Regions from separate parts of the Homo sapiens genome. Here all the other regions are linked to region 1. The links are contacts of gene promoters, found by promoter capture Hi-C in blood cells and fetal thymus (Javierre and others, 2016). All regions are on one chromosome and are shown on one strand. Each heading gives the region's core, a stretch centred on a gene start or on the middle of the fragment in contact. The rest is flanking DNA. Distances are from core to core; before and after follow the strand shown. Region 1 holds the start of ITIH5 (inter-alpha-trypsin inhibitor heavy chain 5). Region 2 has its middle 52 kb from the start of LINC00709. Region 3 has its middle 32 kb from the start of LINC00709. Region 4 overlaps LOC101928272 (a long non-coding RNA gene).

Evidence for each region. The method cuts DNA at HindIII sites, captures the fragments that hold promoters and counts their contacts. A CHiCAGO score of 5 or more calls a contact.
Region 2: a fragment that was not itself captured here is called in contact with the fragment with the promoter of ITIH5 in region 1 in 1 of 17 cell types (M2 macrophages); the score reaches 5.5 in M2 macrophages.
Region 3: a fragment that was not itself captured here is called in contact with the fragment with the promoter of ITIH5 in region 1 in 9 of 17 cell types (M2 macrophages, erythroblasts, endothelial precursors and 6 more); the score reaches 11.2 in M2 macrophages.
Region 4: a contact is called between a fragment that was not itself captured here and the fragment with the promoter of ITIH5 in region 1, in 1 of 17 cell types (endothelial precursors). The highest score is 7.5, in endothelial precursors.

The regions. Positions count from the first base shown.
Region 1 is chr10:7,665,490-7,668,554 of GRCh38, forward strand. It overlaps ITIH5 (inter-alpha-trypsin inhibitor heavy chain 5), which reads right to left and starts at 1,477. Exons shown (of 14, transcript NM_030569.7): 1 at 1,314-1,477. The coding sequence starts at 1,403. The HindIII fragment of the contact is 13,140 bases long and covers 1-3,065 here.
Region 2 is chr10:9,325,945-9,329,009 of GRCh38, forward strand. No RefSeq gene overlaps it. Among named protein-coding and RNA genes, the nearest start is that of LINC00709, 52 kb to the left of the region's middle. The HindIII fragment of the contact is 2,174 bases long and covers 541-2,714 here.
Region 3 is chr10:9,305,591-9,308,655 of GRCh38, forward strand. No RefSeq gene overlaps it. Among named protein-coding and RNA genes, the nearest start is that of LINC00709, 32 kb to the left of the region's middle. The HindIII fragment of the contact is 7,013 bases long and covers 1-3,065 here.
Region 4 is chr10:9,287,360-9,290,424 of GRCh38, forward strand. All of the region lies in intron 2 of LOC101928272 (a long non-coding RNA gene), which reads right to left. Among named protein-coding and RNA genes, the nearest start is that of LINC00709, 13 kb to the left of the region's middle. The HindIII fragment of the contact is 2,722 bases long and covers 157-2,878 here.

The DNA.
Region 1 (3,065 bases), core at 227-2,726:
AAGGCCGAAAGGCACTTGATCAGGGTCCCAGAGCTGATAAGTGACAGAATCAAGAATCAAGTGGTCCCAGACATCCTGGTACCAAGCCCATGCCTTCAGCCATCTACTAAAACATCTCCCAGTTATTGAGCGTCCACTGTATACCAGGTGCTTAACACAAATTAGCTGAGTCCTTGCAAGTTTGCTCAAAAAGAGCCGCATTCCCTGCCCTGACCAACGAGGACATGAAGGCTCTGAGAGATTAAAGGGCTTGCCCGGAACACACAACTAAAGCCCAGCCTGTCTCTGCATCCAAAGCCTGCACTTTTCCAACATCACTACGATGCCTCCTGGGATTTTATTAGCTACTCCCCCCCTAGAAGGAAGTATCATTACTACCACTTTACTGTTAAGCACATTCACAGGACAGAGAACATGAAGATAACTGTCTTCATATTTAGGCAGTTGGGCTTCAAAACTGCTCTTCAAAACAGGGGCTGGAAAAGGGAGAAAAGGTCCGCCTACTTGTATCTTCCTCCCACCGTGCACAAACACGCTGGAAGCTAAACGGCTTAAATATTTAAATGGCATGTGTGTGAAAGCACTTCTACTTTGTGACAGGGCCATGTTGCACATTAGCTCTCAATGCTATTTGTGTGAACCCGCTTCATACTTTTTAAAGACAAAAATGCTCTATTCATCATTTTATTGACATTTCATATTTGCAGGTTTTATTCGCCTGCGAGGTTAAGACATTTGAAACACAAATCCTGACAAACGCACAGACCAGCAACTCGAGGAACTCAGACGCTTTGGCTCTCGGTGCCACCTTTAAATGCTAAACCACCGGTAGGTAGTCGCTAAATGGGAAAGTCGTGTTCTCCCGGTTTTCAGGTGGGAAAAGCTGAGGCTCCCAGGAGTCTAGAACTCCTCTCATATTGCCTTTCTCCCTGGATCAACTGGGAATGATGATAACAGCAGACTGCCCCCCACGCGTGATAAGGAAAAAACCTTGTAATTATAATAACTTTTGGAGCTACCTCAGAAATTAACAACGACGAACAGAAATCTGCGCAATCAACAGGAGCCAAGAAGAAAAACTCGGCTCCGCAGGACAAGTCCCGGGCACAGTTCTGCAGGAAGCCTCAGGCCAGATCAGGCACCGCGGCTCACACAGAGGTGACGCACGAGTGACCCACAGAGAGGGACCCCTGGGCCTCTGGTGGGGGCCTGGGAGACGGTCGAAGGGGGCCCGGGCAGAAGCTCCGCGGCCGGGCCGGCGGAGGGAAGGGGGCGGCCGCGCCCGGGACCCGGCTCCCCTCGGCTCCACTTACCTGCTCCGAAGAGTGGCCCCAGCTCTGCGCCTCTTCCTGCGACCCCACACACAGGGACAGCCCCAGGCACAGCCCCAGCAGCAGGAGCATGGCGGGGCGAGGGCGCGGGACGCTCGGGGACCCGGCGGGACACGCTTTGCAGCGCCCAGGGCTCCAGCCACTGCGGGACGCTCTCGGGGCCGCCCACCCCGCGGTCCCAGCCCGGACCCCGCCCACCCCACGGACCCAGCCCGGACCCCGCCCACCCCGCGGTCCCAGCCCGGACCCCGCCCACCCCACGGACCCAGCCCGGACCCCGCCCACCCCACGGACCCAGCCCGGACCCCGCCCACCCTGCGGTCCCCTCCTGGACTCCGCCCACCCCACGGACCCAGCCCGGACCCCGCCCACCCCACGGACCCAGCCCGGACCCCGCCCACCCCGCGTCCCAGCCCGGACCCCGCCCACCCCACGGACCCAGCCCGGACCCCGCCCACCCTGCGTCCCCTCCTGGACTCCGCCTACCCCGGTCCCAGCCCGGACCCCTTCCACCCCGCGGTCCCCTTCTGGACTCCAACTCTCCCACCCCAGCCCAGACCCCACTTCCCCGCCCCAGACCTTCCCACACCCTGCCTCCCTGGACACCCCCCAAGCCCGGCCTCGCCTCCCTGTCCCCAGTCAGGACCCAGCTTCCCCAGGTCCCCAACCCCAAGCTCCGTTTCTCCACGCCCCCATTTCCCCCCACCTCCCCAGTCCCGGCCCCACCTCTCCTGTCCCTGTCCCCACCGAGGCCAACTTCCCAGACCCCACCTACAGCCACCCCCTTAAACCCGGCCCGCCTCCCTGTGGCCCCCACACCAGCCCCGCCTCCTCCCCAGTCCCCACCCCGCCCGGCGCCGCTTCCCGGCCTCAGTCCCACCAGAGCCGCGCCTCCAGCCCCCAGTGCTGGGCTAGCTCTGTTCGGGGAGAAGGCATTCCAAGCCTGCCTCGCCGCGCACAGCAGGGGCCACCTGTGTTGGCCCCACGGACCCCTCCCACACCCTCCCATCCTGCGGCTGTGACACTTAACCAAGGACCAGTCTCCTCTGTAGAGCCTCCTACTCCGTTTCTTGCCAACACCCACTGCCTCCCGGGCCCTACCCCACGCGCCCCCGCAACTCTTTCTTCCTCTCCCTCAAGGTGCAATATGCTTCTTTGCGGACTTGCTTAATTTCTGTCGCCAGAGGACGCGAGAAGGCCAGCCTGGTCCTCAGCACACAGCCCACCCCGCACCTGCCAGCCTGAAGCCGGCAGATCGTCCCCTCTGCATTGGCCAGGGACGCTTAATAGGCAGGACAAAGGATACTACCTGCAGTCTAGCGCAGGAGGGACTAGCAAGGCTGCCAGCCTTTATGTTCTAAGGAAACAGAGGAGACGAGGGAAGTATCTTGGTAGCGTGTAGTATTTCTGAGTTTCTGGTTATTAATCATGTAAGTGAGTGCCAGTATGTATCTTAGTTACAAACTATTGGTGATACTTCCATCCTGCCATTGGAAGAATTCTTACCCACCAGCCGTCCACACCTGGCCTTCTACAGGCTGAGTGCGTCTTTTTTATCTGGTGATACACATTGCAGTTGGGGCTACTTGTTTATTTCATGTTGCAAAGGATGTTTTTTATGTCTCTGTGATAATTTCATCTAAATAGGTGAGGTGAGTGACAGACCCTTTAAGGACCAAGAACAGGGAAGGGGCTAACTTCGGACCATGGAATAGAGAATACTATTCCATGCAG
Region 2 (3,065 bases), core at 378-2,877, 1.7 Mb after region 1:
TATCATGATTTATAGATCCTCACATAGGGAATGGTATACTAATAGTAAATATTTTACTAAATGAGTAGAAGTTGGAATATGATAAAAACATATAATTGTCAGGTAAAAAAAAATAAGGGAGTTTTTTTTCCTTTATTTTATTCTAGTGGTTGGAGGAACTAAATCTTGTTTTCATTGTTAGAATGCTGACAGAACTTAACCAAACATACTTTGAGATTTTTCAAGATCTTAATAAAATAATGAGTATATGTAACTCTCTATGTTGAACAAGGCAATATTTGAGTATCATTCCACTGCAACTTTTATTAATCATGTTTTGGTTAAACGTATGAGTTTCTGGCTACAGATAATTCATATTTTGCATCAGAAAGCAATCCTATTTGAATAATTTCAGTAATCTTCACACCTACATTGTAAATACTCTTTTTAAGATTTAATCATTGATTTGACTATTTATTGTCTCTCATGTCTCTTAAATTCCATTTCTTCTTCTCTTGTATATTTTTGTTTCATTTATCTCCAGTGCATTTTTGATAACAAAGCTTTGTTGGTGACAACAATTTTGAGTCCTTTCATGCTTTATGATAAATGATACCTTTGCCCTCAACTTAAATGATAATTTTTGTGGACAAATGTCTCGCTCCTAATATTTTTTTTCCACAGAATTAGAAAAGAAGTCAATATCTTTTGTTAGCATCTATATTTTCAACGGACAAATTTGAGGCTAACACTTCTGATTTTTTTGTACATCCTTTGAGTTCAGAAACTTAAGAAACATTTAAGTAAGTGTCTACTTTTTTTGTTGTTGCTCAAAGGGCCACTTTAGTCTCAAGATTTGTTCTATTACTCAGTTCATAGAAATTCTTCAACAAATTATTAATTCAGTCACAATTATCACTTCTCATCCCACAATTCAATAACCTCATTATATATATATATAAAATATTATATATACATATATACAATTTTTTTCCTTGTTTTTACTAAGACTTTTGCTAATGGTTACTGGATCTGCTCAATGTGTTCTCCACAGCTTCTCACTTTTATCTCACTTCTTGGGTCCCCATTTTTCTATATTCTGGGAGATTTCTTTGACTCTTTCTTGCACAATGCTAATTCTGTCTTCAGTCATGCCCTTTGACAGAGAGCTGGCTGCTGACTGCAGCTCATTGTCTGAGTGGCTCAACAGGGAGGTTTCCCCTGATGGTGTTTGGGTGAGGAGAGGGAAAGGAAGGTGGAGAAGTGCATAACTTTCATTAGAAGAGACCTTTACATTCGTCATGGAGAATTTCGTTGTGTTTCATTGATAACCAGGGTTGTCTTCCTTTTCCCCCACTTCATACTATTTCAGAATTTTAGAATGTACTTCTCTTTTGTCCTTCTTAATCGCCCACTCCCAGACCCCACTTTCAGAATGCCTCCTTCTCCCACAGGCATTTTCTTTTGCTTAAAGAGATATTTTCTGTGCCTTAGTCTGAGGACAAACTCTACATCTCACCATTCTGTATGAACAGTAAGGAGGAGCATGGCTGACCCAGCTGCATGGCCAATAGTCCTTTACATGATCATCCTTGTAGCTACCCTCTGATCAACATGCCTTCCTTGCACTTTTAACCATTCCTCAGAGTTCCTCCAAGGCTTGTTGAGTGCTTCATGAAGAACAGCTCCTATCCCTGCAATGGTTCTTTTCTTTGTTGGTGTTGGCCTATTGTTTTCACAACTCACTTCTGCCTTAGCCAATCTCATCTGCTCCCTGTCATCCATCAATTCTTTCAAATATGTTAATAAACTTTCCCTCTTCTTCTTACAGATCTGTTATTGATTTACATGTTTTCTTGTACATTTTCTGTTTTACGTTTTTTTTTTTTCACCAAAATCTTTGAAGGGGAGGTAAACAGTGACACTCAGTCTCCTGCATTGAAGACCGAGGTTAGCAAGCCTTCTGGATTGGCTGAATCAACTTCAGTTACAACCTCATTCCCCATCTCTTTCTACTATTGAAGTTCTAAAGTCTAAAAAACTACAACTTTAAACTCCGTTGCAGTTAGAAGTGGCTATATGACTCAGTTCTGGACAAGGACATATAAGCAGAAATCTCACAGGAGGGTTTTCGTTCATCAATTAAGAAGGAAAGACTTGGCCGGGCGCGGTGGCTCATGCCTGTAATCCCAGCACTTTGTGGGGCTGAGGCAGGAGGATCACAAGGTCAAGAAATTGAGACCATCATGGCCAACATGGTGAAACCCCATCTCAACTAAAAATACAAACATTAGCTGGGTGTGGGTGGCACACACTTGAAGTCCCAGCAACTGGGGAGGCTGGAGCAGGAGAATAGCTTGAACCCAGGAGGTGGAGGTTGCAGTGAGCCAAGATCGCGCTACTGCACCCCAGCCTGGTGACTGAGCAAGACTCCGTCTCAAAAAAAAAAATAAATAAATAAAGAAAAGAAAGCCTTTTGTCTTTTTCATTCCCCCTTCCACCTTTGCATTTTTCCTTTCTCTTTTTATCTGGTAACCTTCAGAGAGCCAGCACAGGACCTAAACCAATGTTCTAAGGATGGTGGAGTATAAATAGAGAAATGCTCTCAGCCTCTGATGGTGTTGGTGAAGAGTGGAATCAATACGAACAATACTTTATCCAGAGGTTTTTTTCTTTTTAAGAGAGGACCCTATTTTTTAAAGCTACTCGTAGACAGATTTTTTAAAATTACCAAAAGCTTAATGCAACCTCAGTAAGGCTTATTTCTTTCTCAGCAAAGCACAAGTTACAATAGTCAAAGGGACTCCATAACCTTGAGTGGATTACTAAACTACCTATGTTTATTTCTGCTTACAGATTTAATGATAATAGAATATGTCATTGAAATAGATCCCATTGATGAATAAATATTAATGATCAATAAAACATTATTAACTTAATATTGTTAAATTAAAATTTAGATAGTACTATTCCCCAGGTTGGTTTATAGATTCGACACAATCTCTATCAAAATCCCTTCAAACTTCTTTGCAGAAATTGACAGGCTGATTAAAATTCTTATGGAAATGCAAAAGACCCAGAATGGC
Region 3 (3,065 bases), core at 404-2,903, 1.6 Mb after region 1:
ATTTACCCTGAATCCAACGAATGCTTACCCGACGTTCGGGTTTTTTGATGCAGCAAAATATGGACCATTGACAAAGATTATTATCAGTGAATTTGATGAGGTGCACAAAAGATAGTTACGCATAGTTAATATAGTTTCATGAGCGATACATAGTTTTGCCAATAGAACCACTTGACTTTCTAGTAGTCTGAGTTCATACTTCAGATATACCTACTGATATTTTGAAAAGAAAAAAATGGCCCTCAGATCCATAGAGATTTCTGGCTTTGATACAGATTTGGTGGTGGCAGGAGGAAGTCTCTCACAAGGAAAGAAGTGCTTCAAAAACTATAAGGAGAACAGAGAACCTCAAACATGTTGAGCAAAATATTTCAAGGTTCATATAGTGAGTTGGAAGTTGGTTAGTATGTTTCAAAAGAAGACATGCATGCGGCCAAGGATCATATGAAAAAAGCTCAACATCACTGACCATTAGAGAAATGCAAATCAAAACCACAAGGAGATACCATCTCACACCAGTCATAATGGCTACTATTAACAAGTCAAAAAAATACAGATTCTGGTGGGGTTGTGAAGAAAAAGGAATGTTTATACACCGTTGGTGAGAGTAAAAATGAGTTTAACCATTTTGGAAAACATTGTGGCGATTCCTCAAAGACCTAAAGAAATAAATATCATTTGACCCAGCAATCCCATTATTGGGTATACACCCAAAGGAATACAAATCGTCCTATTATTAGGACACACATACACATATATTAATTGCAGCACTATTCACAACACAGAATCAACATAAATGTCCATCAATGATAGACTGGATAAAGAAAATGTGGTATATATACACTATGGGATACTATGCAGCCATAAAAAAGAATGAGATCATGTCCTTTGAAGAGACATGGATGCAGCTGAGGCCTTCATCCTTAGCAACTCACACAGGAAGAGAAAACCAAATACCACATGTTTTCATGTATACCTGGGAGCTAAATGATAAGAACGTATGGACACACAGAGGGGAATGTCACACACTGGGGCCTCTCAGAGGGTGGAGGTGGGAGGAGGGAGGGAGAGGATCAGGAAAAATAACGAATGGGTTCTAGGCTTAATACCTGGGTGATGAAATAATCTGTACAGCAAACCCCCATGACACAAGTTTACCTGTGTAACAAATCTGCACATGTACCCCTGAACTTAAAATACAAGTTTAAAAAAAAGAAAGTTGGTGAGTGTGTCTTTTAAAATTTTTGAGGAAAGAATATGTGTTTTATATGGTCAATGATCTCTATGATGTGATACTCCATGTACTGCTCCGTACTGAGCCTTGAGCAGTCCCAGACTGCCTTCTACTTTCCATACCTCAATTCTGCCTGATAACTTTTTCAAAGGCATACATATGGGTATCTGGGATTAGAAAACATTGGTTTCTGAACCTTAATCTACTGCTAATACATTTTTCTCCTTGGTCTATCTGCATATAAATTACTTAAAATTTTGAACCCTATTTTGTCATTATCTAACTAGTGACACACGCTAACTAGTGGCAAAATAACATTCTGAGTAGAAACTCCATCACCTTACATGACTGATGTTTATTATATAATGTGACCTGATCATAATGACGTGTGATAGGAAAAACACTTATTTTTTAGGTACAGTCACTGCCATCATAGACATTGCCATTAGTATGCTTCTAAGAAGCATTGTTAATCAAGTGGCAACATAAGATATTGGAAAAATTATGGGCTTGGGTATCTATCCTAGCTCCACGTCTTACTTGCTGCATGGCTTAATTACTGAATTTTAGTATCCTCCTCTGTAGAGTAAGAAACATGGATGTTAAAGACACAAGCTACATGAAGCATAGAAATTGAAGGAGTACTTTATTCATGGCTATAAAATTAATATTAAACAGACTATTTTCAAATTTTATGGATTTAGTATTAGAGGGATTGGCATAAATGTCACTGGTGATTTGGCCGAGATATTAAAGTATTTATTTATCTAATCAATAGTTATTATTGCAAATAGAAACAAAGTAGTTATCTTTCACTGCTGCCCAAGGCAAGAAGTTAAGTTACTCCTATAGTGTAATTTAAATTTGTAAATTACATTGACTGCTACAATAAGTTCCCCAAATCATGGGACACTTACAAAAAGAAAAGGATAAATGGATAAAAAGCTACGATACTCGAGAATAAATATCAGTGTAACTTTTTTGAGAGGTCTGCCTTTCAGAAATTGCAAAAAAATTCTAATGATACTCATCTGTTTCAAAGAGAAATGACATGAAAAATCTCATAAAATGTTTCACAGATATATTACGTATTAATATCAGTTCTCATTTCCACGTAAGTATAATTTTGAAAGTACTCTTACACAAGATATCATATTCTAGTCACATAACATGTCTGTGAGTTTGGCAAAGCAAAATGATTATCCACATAGCACAGTAAAACTGCTGACTGGAGCTGGGGCTTATTTGCTCCTATTCCAATCCCTTTCCAATGTACCACAATGTCTTCTTCAACAGATAAACATCCATGTATTGCTAACAAATAGGGGACCACGGCCCCTATGAATCAATTTCTGCAGTTGATGTTGAGTGGGGACAGGGAAACTATGGAAGCTCCTCCATGGGCCAATTAGCTAATACCCAGTGAGTCTCTTGGCTAAATAGACTCTGATACCAGAGTAAAAGTCTAGCAAGAACAACTCTGGTGGGGTAAATGAGAAGGCACAGAACTGCCAGGAGGAGGTTAAAACCAAGAAAAAATGTTCTTGTATTGACCAGAAATATACTCACTTCAACATCTTCCTGATTCTGTCAAAATGAGGATTTGCTGCTGAACTTGGGATTGACTCACTGTGGGATGATTTTCAGGGCCTCTATTCCCATCAGTAGATTATTTCTTGGTGTGCCAATATTTATTCTGTTGTTGGAGGAATTGCTTGTAGCTGGTTGTCTCCATTTGATGTTTATCAGGAAGGATTTGGGCCAGCATCGTCTGTGCAAGGCTCAGGAGAGAAACCTGCCTCTTTCTGTTGTCAGACAAGCCATCGCTGGC
Region 4 (3,065 bases), core at 268-2,767, 1.6 Mb after region 1:
ATTTCCTCTCTGATAATGGGACATCATTGCTTAGTCATTCATTCATTCATTTGAGAAGTGTTTCTTGACCATTCTTGTCTGGTCTATTCAGTTCTCCACATTAGAGATAAAACAGACAACCAGTGAACAAGGAAGAAATAGCACCTGCCTTCAAGAAGCTTACAGTCTATCAGAAAAGAATGACATTGAGCTAGTAATTCTAAGTATTACAAAGCAGAAATTTAGGCAGCCACAACTGTATGTAGAAGGAAACTCAACCTGGTTTGGGAGGCAGTGCTATGAAGCCATAGGCCAATTCTCCAAGGAACTACTTGCATTTAAGCTAAGGTGCGCAGGCCGATTCTCCAAAGAACTTGCATTTAAGCTAAGGTGCCATAAAACATTTCGATGTAACAAATGGGAAAAAAATAGACCACACCTAGATACTAATGCTGCCTGTCCTCTTCTTTCATTGAGGAAAGAAAAGCCAAATTAATGCCCAGTTTCAAGTAGAAATATATTTTTGGTTTTGCAAAGAGAGTGTTGGGTTTGGTCACATACAAAAAAAAAGAAAGTCAAGGAAGAAATCACCTGTCGGGTTTAGATATGTAGAGTCAGAAGGATGTAATCCTAGACAAAGAGAAAGGCATGGACATTGGCAAGAAAAAGCACGGGGAGTTCACAAAACGTGTAGGGCTGATCTCCAGCCAGGAGCGCACATTTGTTGTTTAGTGTCTGGTGTCTATTCTGATTGGTTCAAAAAGACTTTGCTGAAATGGCGTCTTCCCTATGGAGGCACCCCAGTCCCACTAATGCTTCTCCTTCCCAAAACACTTACTTAATTCTTCTCATAGCACTTTTATTTTTATAACAGATGTTGTAATTTACTCATTGATTATCCTATTTACTCTCTGTATTTTCCCATTGGAATAAAAGTAAGGGAAGGATCTGCATCTGTTTTGTGTGTTGATGTATTCTGAGCTTCTAGACAGTCCCTGACTTACAGTAGCTACTATAAAAAATTATCGAATTGAACCTAGGGGACCTGACATGTTTTGCTCCATAATTCAGTGGTTCATTGCTGTTGTCCGCCAGGTCAGTCTGACTTGCTGTAGCATATAGATTCCAGCTAGTGGAAGGTATAGCTTTTCCTAAAGCCCTGGGCTGGAAATGGTACAAGTCCTTTGCCTTCAAATTTTATTGTCAAGAACTGAATCACATAACCACACTTAACTGCAAGTGAGGATAGAAAATGCAAAAACCACCAGGTGTGGTGGCTCACGTCTGTAATCCCAGCTCTTAGGGAGGCAGAGGCGGGAGAATAGCTTGAGTCCAGGAGTTTGAGACTTGCCTGGGCAATATAGCATGACCCTATTCTCCACACAAAGGAAAAAAAAAAAAAAAAAGTGTAGCTCCCCTCAAAAGCAACAACCTCCCCAACTTTAAAAAAAAAGAAAGAAAATGCAAAAAGCATATATCCCCAAAGAAAGGAGAGTGTATTTTGATGGACAATTGAGAGTTTCTCTTACTTTGACCATACAACCAAATCACTGAAGGGAAGGTCTCTTCTTCAAAGTGTTACTGCTTCTTTCAACCAAGGCAGAGGTGTTTGTGAGAAAAAAAATCAAGTACATTCCTTTGCCAATATTAGAATGTAACTGAAGGCATTATCCATCAATATTTTGTAAGTATTACAGAGGCAAAATTATGGAAGAGTAGCACATTGGCCTCATCAAAATATTTCAATAGTTAATTATATGCTATATATTTAAGCATTACATACCTCAGATATATTTGTATTGTCAAGAGATCAATCATCAAGTTAATAAATTATGCAACTTAATTTTAAGTATGATTAGCCTAAATTATTAATAATTAAAAATTACAAATGTGGAAACAACATATTTAGAAAGTTACACGAAAAAATTTAAAACCTAATTTCTTTTTCATTGATTCAGTAAAGTTCCCATCATCTTGTTTATAGAAATTAGTATTCTAACTACACTTATCTTTTTAGTTTACAAAGCTAACAATCAAATTGTTACATTTTATACGTCCAGAAGAGCTAAGAGAGCATTTCTTGCCCTCTTAGAATGAGAGGGGAATTCACACTTAATGAGTGACAAATGTGTGTCAGTAAATCATATGCATGTTGATTTTCCAAATAGCTTGTGAGAGGGGCTTTGGATCTAGGTTAGTCTAAATCCAAAACCAAAGGAAGTTGTTCTAAAGAGGCCCACAATTTATTAATTCATTTATTCATATTACTTATTAGACACCCATGTATAAATGTCTAAGTGCTGAGGGGCAGAAACCTTGTCTGTCTTGTTAGCAATGATAGTCTCAGTGCCTTAAACATTGCTAACAGGATTATGCATTCAAAAAAATCTTTGTTGAATGAATGAATGAATGAGTGAATGCATGCTCAATGGTTGAAAATTTACTGTGGGCAAATCATTGTGCTCGCTGCTCATAATACTGTGCTTGGGGTAAAACCTTGAGGATATTATATGAGGTCCCTTAAGTCTCTCTCTCTCTGTCTCTCTTTCTTTCTTTTGATTTGAATCCTATACTTCTCCTATGACAAGTCTGATTAAAAAAAAAACAGTTTTTCAGGATCTAAACATTCAGGAAGTTCCTCTGGTATTTGTAATTCTTTAATGGCGCAATATTTTCTAGACCACTAGAAATGGTGCAATATTTTCTAGACCACTATTTATTTACATAACTAACTCATTGCATATAGCTCATTTAAAAATACCTTTTCAGAGGGAGGTGATGAAAATGGAATTGGGTACTTCAAGGAATCTCAACTAAATGATTATTTTTTAAAGGCAAACTTGGCCTTTTGCATTAGTATTTGAATCATTCAATTTCTATATCTGAAAATGCATTTGCAAGCTTGAGAAGATATGCCTTGGTCTGCTGTTTTTCAAACTATGATTGAGAATCAACAGAGCGGTTAAATCAATTGTGTAGGTAAAAACTAGGTTTTGCAATGAAAGACAATATATTAGAATAAAATGAAATGAAATGACCAATATCAAACTACACTACTCAACAAAGGTATAAGTCTTGCTTTATAA